2 separate regions of the Homo sapiens genome follow, and region 2 is linked to region 1. Evidence: promoter capture Hi-C in human tissues and cell types (Jung and others, 2019). All regions are on one chromosome and are shown on one strand. The core of a region is centred on a gene start or on the middle of the fragment in contact, and the rest is flanking DNA. Distances in the headings are between cores, read along the strand shown.

Region 1 (6,128 bases), core at 3,629-6,128:
GTTGGGTTTTCATTCACGCCAGTCTTTAGTTCATTGTGCTTTCAAAGGTTTCCACCCAGGCTGGCAACAGTGGTAACGTTTTCCACCGAGTGCAGCACTGCAATTTGTGTTGACAGAATGGCTGAATGACATCGTCTGCACAGTGCCTAAATTTCCTGAGACTGGTTGATCTGAGAATCAAAGTAAACCATTGAAAGACTCTAAAGTGCAAAGCCTGAGGACCTTCTCAGACGCTGTACGTTCTGGTAAAGCTTTTGCTCAGAATCTTTCCCAATCTGTGAGTCATCACTTGTTGCTAGACTTAAAATTTTTAAAACTGGCATGAGTCAGAGACATTTAGCAAAACTTCCTAAAATGTTACTTTACCAGGAGATAATTGTCTTCAAAACATAGCCAAACTACACAGTGGCGTTGTAGCCCCGTAGTTCAACTGTTGATTTTTAATTTTTTTAGTTTGAGTTCTAAAATTTTTCAAATAAGCTTTTGGATGCAATGTGTTTTGAATTGGATGCAGGAAAAAGAAAATGTTCCTTCTGTGAGCACAATGCAAATAATGTGCTCCCAGTGTGAAATAAAAATACTTCTCTAAATATATCCTCCCTCAAAATGGTCAAATGGACCTCAGGAATATTGCTTTAAAATGCAAAGAAACAGGAGGTCCTCCCTACCTCTACATGTCACAATGACTAGAAACATCTGCTGACATTTTTTCTTCTCTGATCTTTTTGGGTTTTCTTTACTTTTCACATTTTTATTTTATTTATTTATTCATGTATTTATTTTTTTTTGAGACAGTCTCACTCTGTCACCCAGGCTGGAGCACAATGACACCATCTCAGCTGACTGCAACCTCTGCCTCCCGGGTTCAAGCAACTCACATGCCTCAGCCTCCCAAGTAGCTGGGATTACAGGTGTGCACCACCACACCCAGCTAATTTTTCTATTTTTTTAGTAGAGATGGGGTTTCATCATGTTGGCCAGACTGGTCTCGAACTCCTGGCCTCAAGCGATCTATCTGCCTCAGCCTCCCAAAGTGCTGGGATTACAGGCATGGGCCACCTCACCTGGCCCACATTTTTGGTTTTTGTATATTACAAAAGGCTGGTAAGTGGCTTACATTTGGCCATGTTCCTTGGGTGTAGGCCAAGTCCACGTCAGACATGTATGCCACTGATGGACAATTTTCAGGAACATCTATTATCAACTAAATGCTGTCTGGCAGCCTCTGAGTGGGCCATTCATCTAGTGGGAACCACCTGGCTTAGTTCTCTGGAGGCTCAAATGAAAGAGAATCCTTCCTAAGTCACAGCCTAGCAACAAGAAGGATGGGTAAAGCTGACTTCAACAGTGTTGAGCCCAGAATCCCACTAACACTTTCTCTTTCCACCTTATATGTTTAATAACCTTTATTGCCTTTCTGACTTTAATCATAGGACATACTCAATATAAAACTTGGAAAAGTCAAATAGGCACAAAAGGAAAATAGACTGCCTGTGTATGTATATATGCATTTGTGCGTGTGTGCATATATATACATATATTCACTTCTATTATGAAAGTTTTCAAAGCTGAATGGTACAATGAAACACACACAGTACCTAGGTTCAATAAATGTTAATTTTGCTGTTTTCCTCCCCATATAGCCTGAGAAAGGTGCAGTGGCTCACAACTGTAATCCCAGCACTTTGGGGGAGGCCAAGGAGGGAAGATCGCTTTAGCCCAGGACTTTCAGACCAGCCTGGGCAACAGAGCAAAACCCCTTCTACAAAAAATTGAAAAAATTAGCCAGGCGTGGTGGCGTAACACCTGCAGTCCCAGCTACGTGGGAGGCTGAGGGAGGAGGATCGCTCGAGCCCAGGAGTTTGAGGCTGCAATGAGCTATGATTATACCACTTTACTCCAGCCTGGGCACCAGAGCAAGTACGTCTCAAAAAAAAAAAAAGTTGCTGGTATTGAAGATTTGCCCATAATACACTAAAAAGAACATAATTACAATCACATTATCGTACTGAAGAAAACAATTCTATATTACCTATATTCGTTTCATTTTCAAATTTCCAATTGTTACAAGAATTGTTATAGTCATTTTTGTTGAACTAGGATGCAAAAAAAATTATTCATACATTGTATTGGGTTGTCTCTTAAATGTCTTTTAACCCCAGAATGCCTACTCCTTCCTTTTTTGAAATGACACTTACTGAAGAGCCCTGGCAGTTACGGAATATCACAGATATTCTGCTCACCTGATTGTTTCTAAATGTTAACTTGTGCCTCTACCCCCTCTCCATTTCCTGTCAGCTGGAGGTCTAGATGCTTGGTTAGATTCCAGTCAACAATTTCTTGGTGAGATACTGCTGTGTTCTTGGTATCATCTTAGGAAGCACAGAAACATCAGGCCGTCCCATAAGTGACACTAGGTTTGATCACTTGATTATGGTGGCGGCAGTCAGATCTGTCAATTGTGAAGATTGGTGTTTTCCAAATTAGGCGTGGTGGCTCACATCTGCAGTCCCAGCTACTCAGGGGTGCTGAGGTGGGAAGATCACTTGAGCCTGAGAAGTCGAGGCTGCAGTGAGCTGTGATCACATCACTGCACTCCGGCCTGGGGGACAAAGCGAGACGCCCCTCTCTAAAATAAGTAAAGATTGATGTTTTCCTTTTGCAAGTGACCTGTGCAGCAACATTTGAGTGTTGTGCTAAAATTCTGTTCCTCAGCAGCCTTTTACCTGAAAGGTTTTGGCATCCAGTGATCTTTGCCTGGTCAGTTATCTCATTAATGGGTTAAAATGTTGGAACCTCTCATGGCACATGCTGAGCAGCCAGTAGTCTTCAGGACAATGGATTCTCTAGGTAAACTTGTCACCACACTGTTCCAAGTGAGGCTGGAAGACAGTTTGTCAACACCATATTTCAGGCTGGAGGTGGAAAGAAGCTGTTGAGGAAACTCCCTTTGCAAGCCCTACTCCCAGCTCCCAGCTGGTGAGACAATTTACATGGAAAAACCATGAATACAACACAAGATCTGAAGTGTCTCCACCCTCTAGGCACCTAGGGAAAGCTTGGATTTGCTTTGGTACACTGTCTAGTTGTACAGGATCCCTGCAACTAGTAGTCAGACCTGCCTTCCTAACAAACCTGCTGAAAAAGGTAGTAATAGTTAATGCAAAGATGAAAAACACTGGTCTGCCAAATTAGAAACAACTCCGCAGACCTAACTGGCACTTATCATCATGCACTATACATTCAAATAGGAAAGAACAAAAGAACATACACAAAATATCGGGAACACATTGTTAACTGTGTCTACAAAGCAGGGTGAGGACAGGGCACGCGGCTCAGGGCCTATAATCCCAGTACTTGGCAAGGCCAAGGTGGGAGGATCGCTTGAGGCCAGGAGTTGGAGACAAGCCTGGGCAACGTGAGACCGTCTCCACAAAAGAAGTTTTAAAAATTAGCTGGGCATGGTGGTGAGCTCCTGTAGTTCCAGGGACTTAGGAGGCTGGGGAGGGAGAATTGCTTGAAGCCAGGAGGTCAAGGCTGCAGTGACCTATGACGGCACCACTGCAAAAATAAAGGCAGGCAGGATGATGTGTAAGAATGGACAGAATTTCAAAATCAAATTTCTAGAGAGCTTTTCAGAATAAAAAGTTTGAAGAGTGAGACGGCATCCTAAGATATTTCATTTTATATTACATAGTTAAGTTTCAAATTATTTTCTGGAGGAAAATTAAACACCTTCTAAAAACCTAAAGGCAGATGAAGCTCACAGGTGAAAGTCACTCCACTCTGGGGCTCCAGAAGGCTGAGTCTTAGTCAACATGACTTTTTTTTTCTTTTCAGAGACAGGGTCTCATTCTGTCACCCAGTCTGAAGTACAGTGGTACAATCTTGGCTCACTGCACACCCCGCCTCCCAGGCTCAAGCGATCCTCCTCCATCAGCCTCCCGAATAGCTGGGGCTACAGGCAAGTGCCACCAGGCTCAGCTACTTTTTGTATTTTTTGTAGAGATGGGGTTTTGCCATGTTGCTCAGGCTGGTCTCAAACTCCTGGGCTCAAACGATCCTCCTGCCTCAGCCTCTCAAAGTGCAAGGCTTATGGGTGTGAGCCACCACACCCAGTCTTCTACATGGTTTTTCTGAAAGCTCTGATTACATGCTGAATTTACAAATGGTGGAAAACAAGGAGTAATGGTTAATAAGCTGAATGGTACAGTACAAATTACACAAGGAACAATACATGAATTAGAAATTTAAAATTTAGTTGAAATATAAAATAAATTATTGCCAGAAACACAAAGGGCACATGAATACAATAGGGGAAACAGCTTAATGGCTTTCTGTTCTCTGAAAACTCAAGGCCCATCTCTGAGTGATAAGAGTACCCTAACAGGCAAAGCCCTCTGAGGTCCGGGACCAGGAAGACAGTGCTACTCCACCTACTGGCGGTCTGGCACTATCTGTAGGCTGGAGTTGGGCTGGGGATGGTACATTCAAAATGGACTTTGGTAAACTAGGGGACAACCCAGACAAACACTGCAGAAAGGAGGAAGGACTCCCTTTCCAGCATCTCAAATTCAAGGCTCCAAGTTACTGGGCTTGGGCAAAGTCACACATTTTCTCAACAAAGGCCAACTGCTGACAATCCAAATTTTAAAAACACTGCCATTAGGCCAGGCGCAGTGGCTCACGCCTGTAATCCCAGCACTTTGGGAGGCTGAGGCAGGTGGATCACGAGGTCAGGAGTTCCAGACCAGCCTGGCCAACATAGTGAAACCCCATCTCTACTAAAAATACAAAAAATTAGCTGAGCGTGGTGGAGGGCGCCTGTAATCCCAGCTACAGGGGAGGCTGAGACAGGAGAATCGCTTGCACCTGGAAGGCGGAGGCTGCAGTGAGCCAGGATCGCGCCACTGCACTCCAGGCCAGATGACAGTGTGAGGCTTCATCTCAAAAACGAACAAAAAACCCACTGCCATTAAAAGCTTTATTTTATTTACTTATTTTTTAGAGACAGGGTCTTGCTATGTTACCCAGGCTGGCCTTGAACTTCTGGGCTCCAGCCATCCTCCTGCCTCAGCCTCCTGAGTAGCTGGAACACAGATGTGCACCACCACCACACGCAGGAAGAGCTTTATTTTAGAAAGTACTCTTCCTACATGTGAAGTCTCCAAGAATAAAGAAAAGAAAGTACTCGTCTTTGGCAAACAGTGGAGATCTTCTGAACCTTTTTTGAGATGGAGTTTCACTCATCGCCCTGGCTGGAGTAGCAATAGCACAATCTTGGCTCACTGCAACCTCTGCCTCCCGGGTTCAAGCAATTCTGCTGCCTTAGCCTCCTGAGTAGCTGGAATTACAGGTGCCTGCCACCAGGCCCGGCTAATTTTTTTTTTTTTTTTTAGTAGAGATGGGGTTTCACCATGTTGACCAGGTTGGTCTTGAACTACTGACCTCAGGTGATCCACCTGCCTCAGCCTTCCAAAGTGCTGGGATTACAGGCATGAGCCACCGTGCCCGACCGAGTTCTTTTTTTAATGAAAAGAATTTGACATTCCTGCAGTAGATATAAGGCAGCAGAAACAGGAACTGTGCAGGCATGTGTAACAAGAATGCAGATGCCATTTATTTGGTCCATAAGTATAGTCGTTATTTGAGTTTTACAAAACATCGAATATAAATAACCTGAAACTGTAACAATACACAAAAATTGGCTTCTTACACAGACATACCAGGCGGTACAAACTGAAAACTTGAGTAAATTAACATTGTTTTACATTAATATACATAGTGCCATCTAACATTTAAAAACAAGTTTCAATGCATAGCACTCGATACTTCTTTGAATCTGTTTCAATCAGTTAAGAGTATGAAAATGGTTAGATCTAGGCTAAAAATAATTCTTCTTCTAGCCAAAAATAAAGGCATAATATTTATAACCAGGTATCAACTTTACTAAACCACAATATTTTGAAACTATTAATGATACCTACGGGTATTTACATTAAAAAGGCAACATGCATTGTGTTGTTTTATCTCATGACTGGTTATGCACACACTTTGTTCAAAGGGTTTTTAAAACTATATTCCTACTTTCAATACAGCATACTGCAATGTGTCTAACAGTTCTAGCA
Region 2 (6,128 bases), core at 1,086-3,585, 260 kb before region 1:
CTGCAGAAAGTTCTCTTAGACAATACTGCACTAGATCATGAAGTCCTGTGTGTCAGTGTACACCAAAATCCATGTACAACTTTTCCTAACAGATACTTCCTAAGTGTTTAGAAGATGAACCAATGAATGATTTTGGCATTAGTTCACTTTAGCTGTTACTTTTTTCTTGCTCTGCCGCCAGGCTGGAGTGCAGTGACATAATCATAGCTCACTGCAGCCGCACACCACAGGGTTCAAGAAATTTTCTCAACTCATCACCCTCCCGAATAGCTGGAAAAACAGGCATGTACCACCACACCAGTTTTTCAATTCTAATTATCTAACTTCTCCAAGAAAACAGACTTCACCCAACATGTACATCTGCTACTCACATCCCCTCCTATGCAAGCTTCACCTTCCATGCCATGATTCTGCCCCACCAGTTCGTCATTACTCATCTTATTCACTCCACAATTACTTACTAAGCATCTATTTGGTGCCAGGTAACCCTCTGGGTACTGAAGCTATAACAGACAACAAAAAAGAAAAAAGATTCCTCCCACCAGGAACAGACAATGAGCATGTGCATATACTGAACATACAGTACATCAGCTAGTGAGTGACACACACTGTGGAAAACAACAAAGCAGTGATGGAGGAGTGGAAGTGCTAGGCGAGGGAAGGTGACTGCGATTGCAAATAGCCATTCAGGGAAGCTTTTCTGAGAAAGTAACCACGGAACAAACACACGAAGAAGATAAGGATGCAAGTTTGTGCGTATGTGGGGGAAGAATATTCCACGTCGATGGCACAGCAACTAGTGACAGTGGCTAGAGCTCACAGGAATGAGGAGGCAGAGAAGGAAGGTGGGATCAGAAAGGTAATGGCCTAATTGTACAAATAGGTCATTGCAGAAGTGACTCAGTTAGAGCCACTGAAAAATTATAGGTTGAGGAATGACAGGAATTTATGTAACAATAGGACCACGGTCACAGCTGTACTGAGAACAGACTGATGAGGGTTAAGGGCAGATGCAGGGAATCCAGCTAGGAGGCTACCGCAATAATCCAGGTGGCTTTATTGCTATCACTACCGGGGTGGTAGTGGTGGTGGTAGTGCTGGGGTAACTAATGGTCAGATTCTGTATACAGTGTATAGCTTAGCTCCAACTAGAGGATCTGAATATAGGTATAAGTCAAAGGGAAGAATCAAGGATGACTGCAAGCATCTCTTCACTTGAGACCACATGGTACAGTTTTGACAACCATAAACCGAATAACCTTACATTCCAAAGTTGCATTGTGAATTACAGTTTTAAAATGTTGGCAAGACTAGAAAGTCTTCTAGCAGAAAACTGTAGAAAAGAGGAACACTGGGTGAGGAGGATAATACCTTGGAGCTCTCCTGTGGGCTCCGTCCTTCCTATACTGAAAGGAACCATGGATCCAGTCCCTTAAATGGACTTGGTTAGGTGGGAACAGGCAGGAGAAGCAAAGCAAACACACAGTCCTGATAAAGTGTTTCAGGAAGATTTGCGGACACACCGACCTACCTGAGGCATTACTCTGCAATTTCCAACAGCCAACAGAGTCCTCTTTCCAGGCTCTTATCTTAGAGATGGGCAGTGTCCTGAGGGCACAGAAGGGCAGGAAAAAGCAGTCATGAAAAATCAGGCTTATCTTGCGGCACCTGTGACACACCATAATGGAAAGGCACACTGGTAATCACTCTCCAGGGCGCCAATCTCTCCCTGGGAACTAACAGGGTGTTTCTCCGCAAGGGCTAACCATTTACCAGGTGCCACCTGCGAGGAAAATCAATTACTCTGTAAATAAAATCCTCATAAAACAATGGTAAAAACTTTATCAGCTCGTTCAGTCTTCACCACTATGCACGGTGTGCGTTCACATTTTTCCAGATCTATTTTTTAAACGATGACAAAACTGAAATTCCAAGATACTGAACCCATTTGTTCAAGGTTACACAACTGTAGAGCGCCGGCTTCATGACGACATAACCCAAAGACAACTGTGGCTGGCGTCTAACCACGCGCCCACTTCACTCTCACAACAGCGCCAAGAGGTCGGCGCCGTCATCACCCCGCGTTTACATAGGAGGACATGAAGGCCAGGAAAACCAAGGCACCGGCCGGGGTCACACCGCGGGGCAGACCCAGGGCCTGAGCCCCGCCGCCGCCCCCGGGACTCATACTGGCCGGAGTCCTCAGCAGGGCCTCACCGTCCCCGCAGGCGCCCCGCGTCGCTGGTGAGCGGGCAACGGCCGCCGACCTCTGGGGACGACACTGCCCAGAATCGTCCCGGAGCCTGGGAGTCGCCGTCAGGCCTGAGGCTACAGCGGGGCGGACCCAGTGCGCCGCCCACAGCCGATCGACATTTCCCAGAATCATCCGCGCAGGGGACAAAATTCCAGGCGCAACGAACCGCAGGTACCGGAAGACCACACTTCCCAGGAGTCTCTGCGGCCGCGCGGACCTGGGGCGCCGCGGGCAAACAGATCTCGGTTTCCTAAAAAACTAAACCGCCTGGGGCTGTCGTCCCAGAGCCCGGCAGTTAGGACCATGCGGGAAGTGTCCTGGGGCATATAGTCATACTGATGAGGTGAAAGATACACCTCGGAACCAAGGGCCACCCTCTACTTTTAAGGACAATGGCGCCGGGACCAAGAAACTACACTTCCCAGAAAACCGTGCGGCCGTGGCAAACTCTTCTGGGTCTAGCGTGCGCTCACACTAATGTTTATCTCCCGGGACGTGGGCAGACCTTGTACCAGGCGAGCTCTCGCCTTTGCTAGCAAAAGAGCTCCTCTCTTCCCAAACCCTGCTACTACGCTGTCCACCCTGTATGGTCTTTGAGGTCTTTGAGGTTTTTTTGGAATTCACTTGCTGGAGACTACAGCTCACAGAACGCCCTGGGCTGGATTGTGCCAGCTGTAGTTCGCGAACCAAGGACATTTCCTGGAAATGCATGCGGCCACGTATCTGTGACAGAAATGGCAGTTCTCACGTGCGTTACGCCCCCTGGAAGGACTTGGAAATACGGAACTTGAGTGAGCACTGAGAGGACACAGACCCTCATCCTGGGAGGAGTCACTCCTCCCGCAGCCATCAGAGCCTGACAACCGCTTCTCACCAGAGGCGCTTCTTAGACCCTGACCTTGCCCGGCTCACCCAAAGGGGCAATGGCCTTCTTTGTATGCAAGCCAGACAGTCTACTGTTGTATATTTGAATTTTTTACTTTATTTTTAATATTTTAATTAAATTTTAATTTAATGCTGCCTCTACCTCTGAGAGAGACAGGGAGAGATGGGGGAGGCCTGGAGTGGGGGCCCTGCGGGGCAGGGACAGGGGACCCTTCCTCACTTTGCACAATCTGGGAACCCTCCCCAAGCGGAACAGCCAGCTGCAGTGGAAAAGCACTGGCTTAGTGGGCTTCGTCCTGGGGACGAAGGCTGGGAGACTGCAGCTGAAAGGTGTGGGCTCCAGGAGGGCCGCAGGGGGCCTAGCAGCAGCGTCAGGGAGCAGAAGTCCGCCCTCCCTCCATCTTCCTTCCTTCTCTGGCCGCCAGAGCGCTCTGTCTCCCTCCCACGCCCACAGCTACAGGTGGAGCCGGCTTGGGGCGGGGGGGGGGTCCTCCTAGGGCGAAGAGGGCCAGGAGCCTTCCTGAGGACCTGAGGCTCCTCTGGGCCTCCCAGGGCTGGGCCTGTGATCTGATCTGCTTTGCCCTGGGAGGGACGTGCTCAGTGGTGGGGTTTGTGTAGCTGTCACTCATTCACCTGCCTGTGCTCAGCCACTCACCTGCTACTCCCATTGGCACCCACCCAGTACACATGTGGGTCGTCAGCTGCCATCAGGAGTAGTTCCTGCCTGTGTCACACACACCCATCCCACCCACCACACTGCAGGTTACAGGATTGCCCCACAAGCGCCACCATGCCTGCCTGAGGTTACCTGGCACACAAGTATCCTCACCTGCATGACATGACCAGATCGTGCACTTTCTATGCCAGGACCAGGGCCAGGGCAAGCTTGCACCTTCAGCCTTGGGGACACTGGGGGTGGTGGTGGCTGGAGGCCAGGGAAGTCACCAGGCTGGAGACATCATCTACCTCCAGGAGAGGGTTGATATCAGACATCTCCCATGCACCACTTTGAGCTATCTCAGCGTCACCTGGGACTCTGGCTGGCACTGTGACCAGCAGTTCCATGAAGGTTTAGACCACCTCTAGGCTTAGGAAGGGCCTCCCTTGCCATCAGCGTGGTCCAGGCTGCACGCCTGGTGACCAAGGGCTCTGGGCAGCAGATGCAGCCAGCCAGAGTGTTGGGGTGAGGGGCCTGGGCACAGGAGGGACGTGAGGCCTTCCCTGCACCCCCATGACCACCATTTCAGAGGGAGGACAGCAATTGTTTGGGTTTGTCCTGTGAGCGGTGGCAGAGGGCAGGGCCCAGGGCAGGTCCAGGGCCAGACAGGCATCCCATGCTACAGCCTCGGGGCCACGAGGGCACATGATGGGGTCGGTGTGAGGGCATCCCCTGTGCCAAATACCTGGGCAGGAGGTGCCCTGGGGTTGGTGGGTGGGTCAGGGCATTTGCAGGATTTCTGGTTTCTGTTGGAGTTGTATGTCCTGGAGAATGGAGGGAAGAGAGAAAGGGTGAAGAGAAGGGGGAAACGACCCCTGCTGCTTCCTGGCCTCTAAGTAGGGGGTGATGGGTGGTTGGTGAGTGGCAGAGGGGTCAGCGGGAGCTTCAAGGCTGAGCCAGGGAAGCGGAGGCAGCAGGGATGCAGACCTTGCCTGAGGCTGGCTCGGGGCTGGGGCTTCTTAGAGGTCAGGGCCCTAGAGCTCCCGGACAGGGAGTCTGCAGGAACAGTGACACAGCACATGACACAGCACAACTCAACACAACACAACCTGGCACAGCAGAGCAGCGTGCTGTGCACTGGGCTGCAGGAGAACACGGAGTGGGGTCTGTAGGGTCCCAGGAGTCATGGAGCAAACTGACCTGAGCCGTGTCCCTCAGTCAAGGCACAGGCACCTGGCCTTCAGCCAGCTTCCTTGTGACAGCCCCATGCCCTGGTGTCCCTGGGGCTGAGACAGGGCTGGGGCTGCTGTCCAAGGTGAGGTCTGACTAATCCCCTGCCTCTAACCCCCAGTTGTTTTGGGAACTTGAGTATCTTCTAAGAGACCCAGTGGTGCTGATGGGATTTCTGGTCACCTCAACCAGGGCCCCTGCCCACCTGGCCACACTGGCTCCTACTCAAATCTGACCTTAGGGCTTGCGTGGCCTCTGCTTACTGAGCCCTGTGGTTCTCTGCCAGGCACCATTGGCCCTGCGGCCAGGCTGACACCTGGAGAATGGCCTGTCCCCAAAGCCTGCACTCCTCCCAGCTCACCCGCTTTGCTTTTCTCCCACACTGGGAGGTGGGAGCCAGGTTGACACTGGAGGAGGAGCTCCCTCAACTCTGGCTTCACTTTAGAGTTCTGGGCAGAGTTTTGGGAGATGAGATTTCCTGGAGAGGGGCTGGAGCTCGAGAGCCTGCTGAGCGGGGAGTGGTCCCATAGCAGAGAGACCCATGGTGGAGGGGCGGGGTGGGTGGGGAGGACAGCCTGGCTGTGGAGGAGCTGGGGCAGGCAGGTTACACGGGTGCAGCTCACACTCCCTCCTTTTCCCCGCTGTCCTCTCCTGTCTCTTCCTCCTTGCCCTATTCTTTCCTTCTTTTCTGGATACGCTTCATCCGGATTCAAAAGGATAGCTTTTGATATTTCACCATTAAATAGGAAGTTTAATTTAGGAATTTTTGGTAGATGCTTTGTTAGATTAAGGATATATTATTCTATTTCTATTTTATTTTTTTAATTTCTTTTTTTTTTTTTTTTGAGACAGAGTCTCTCTCTGTCTCCTAGGCTGGAGTGCAGTGGCACGATCTCAGCTCACTCCAACCTGTGCCTCCTGGGTTCAAGTGAGTCTCCTTTCTCAGCCTGTGGAGTAGCTGGGACTACCATCACACACCACCACGCCTGGCTAATTTTTGTATTTTCAGTAGAGGCGGGATTTCACCATGTTGGCCAGGCTGATCTCCAACTCCTGACCTCCAGTGATCCACCCACCTTGGCCTCCAAAAGTGCTGTGATT

Evidence for each region. Contacts are between HindIII fragments. The study calls those that stand out against the background at their distance.
Region 2: a contact is called between the fragment with the promoter of ZNF181 here and a fragment that was not itself captured in region 1, in 5 of the 25 tissues and cell types used here (heart left ventricle, liver, lymphoblastoid cells and 2 more).

What each region holds. Positions count from the first base shown.
Region 1 is chr19:34,469,362-34,475,489 of GRCh38, reverse strand. UBA2 (ubiquitin like modifier activating enzyme 2) reads right to left here. Exons shown (of 17, transcript NM_005499.3): 17 at 4,239-6,128. Among named protein-coding and RNA genes, the nearest start is that of WTIP, 9.3 kb to the left of the region's middle. The HindIII fragment of the contact is 6,218 bases long and covers 1,770-6,128 here.
Region 2 is chr19:34,730,450-34,736,577 of GRCh38, reverse strand. It overlaps ZNF181 (zinc finger protein 181), which reads right to left and starts at 2,335. Exons shown (of 4, transcript NM_001029997.4): 1 at 1,532-2,335. The coding sequence starts at 1,540. RefSeq lists silencers at 2,093-2,152, 2,253-2,302, 5,008-5,218 and enhancers at 2,583-2,972, 2,693-3,210, 3,428-3,487. The HindIII fragment of the contact is 5,149 bases long and covers 543-5,691 here.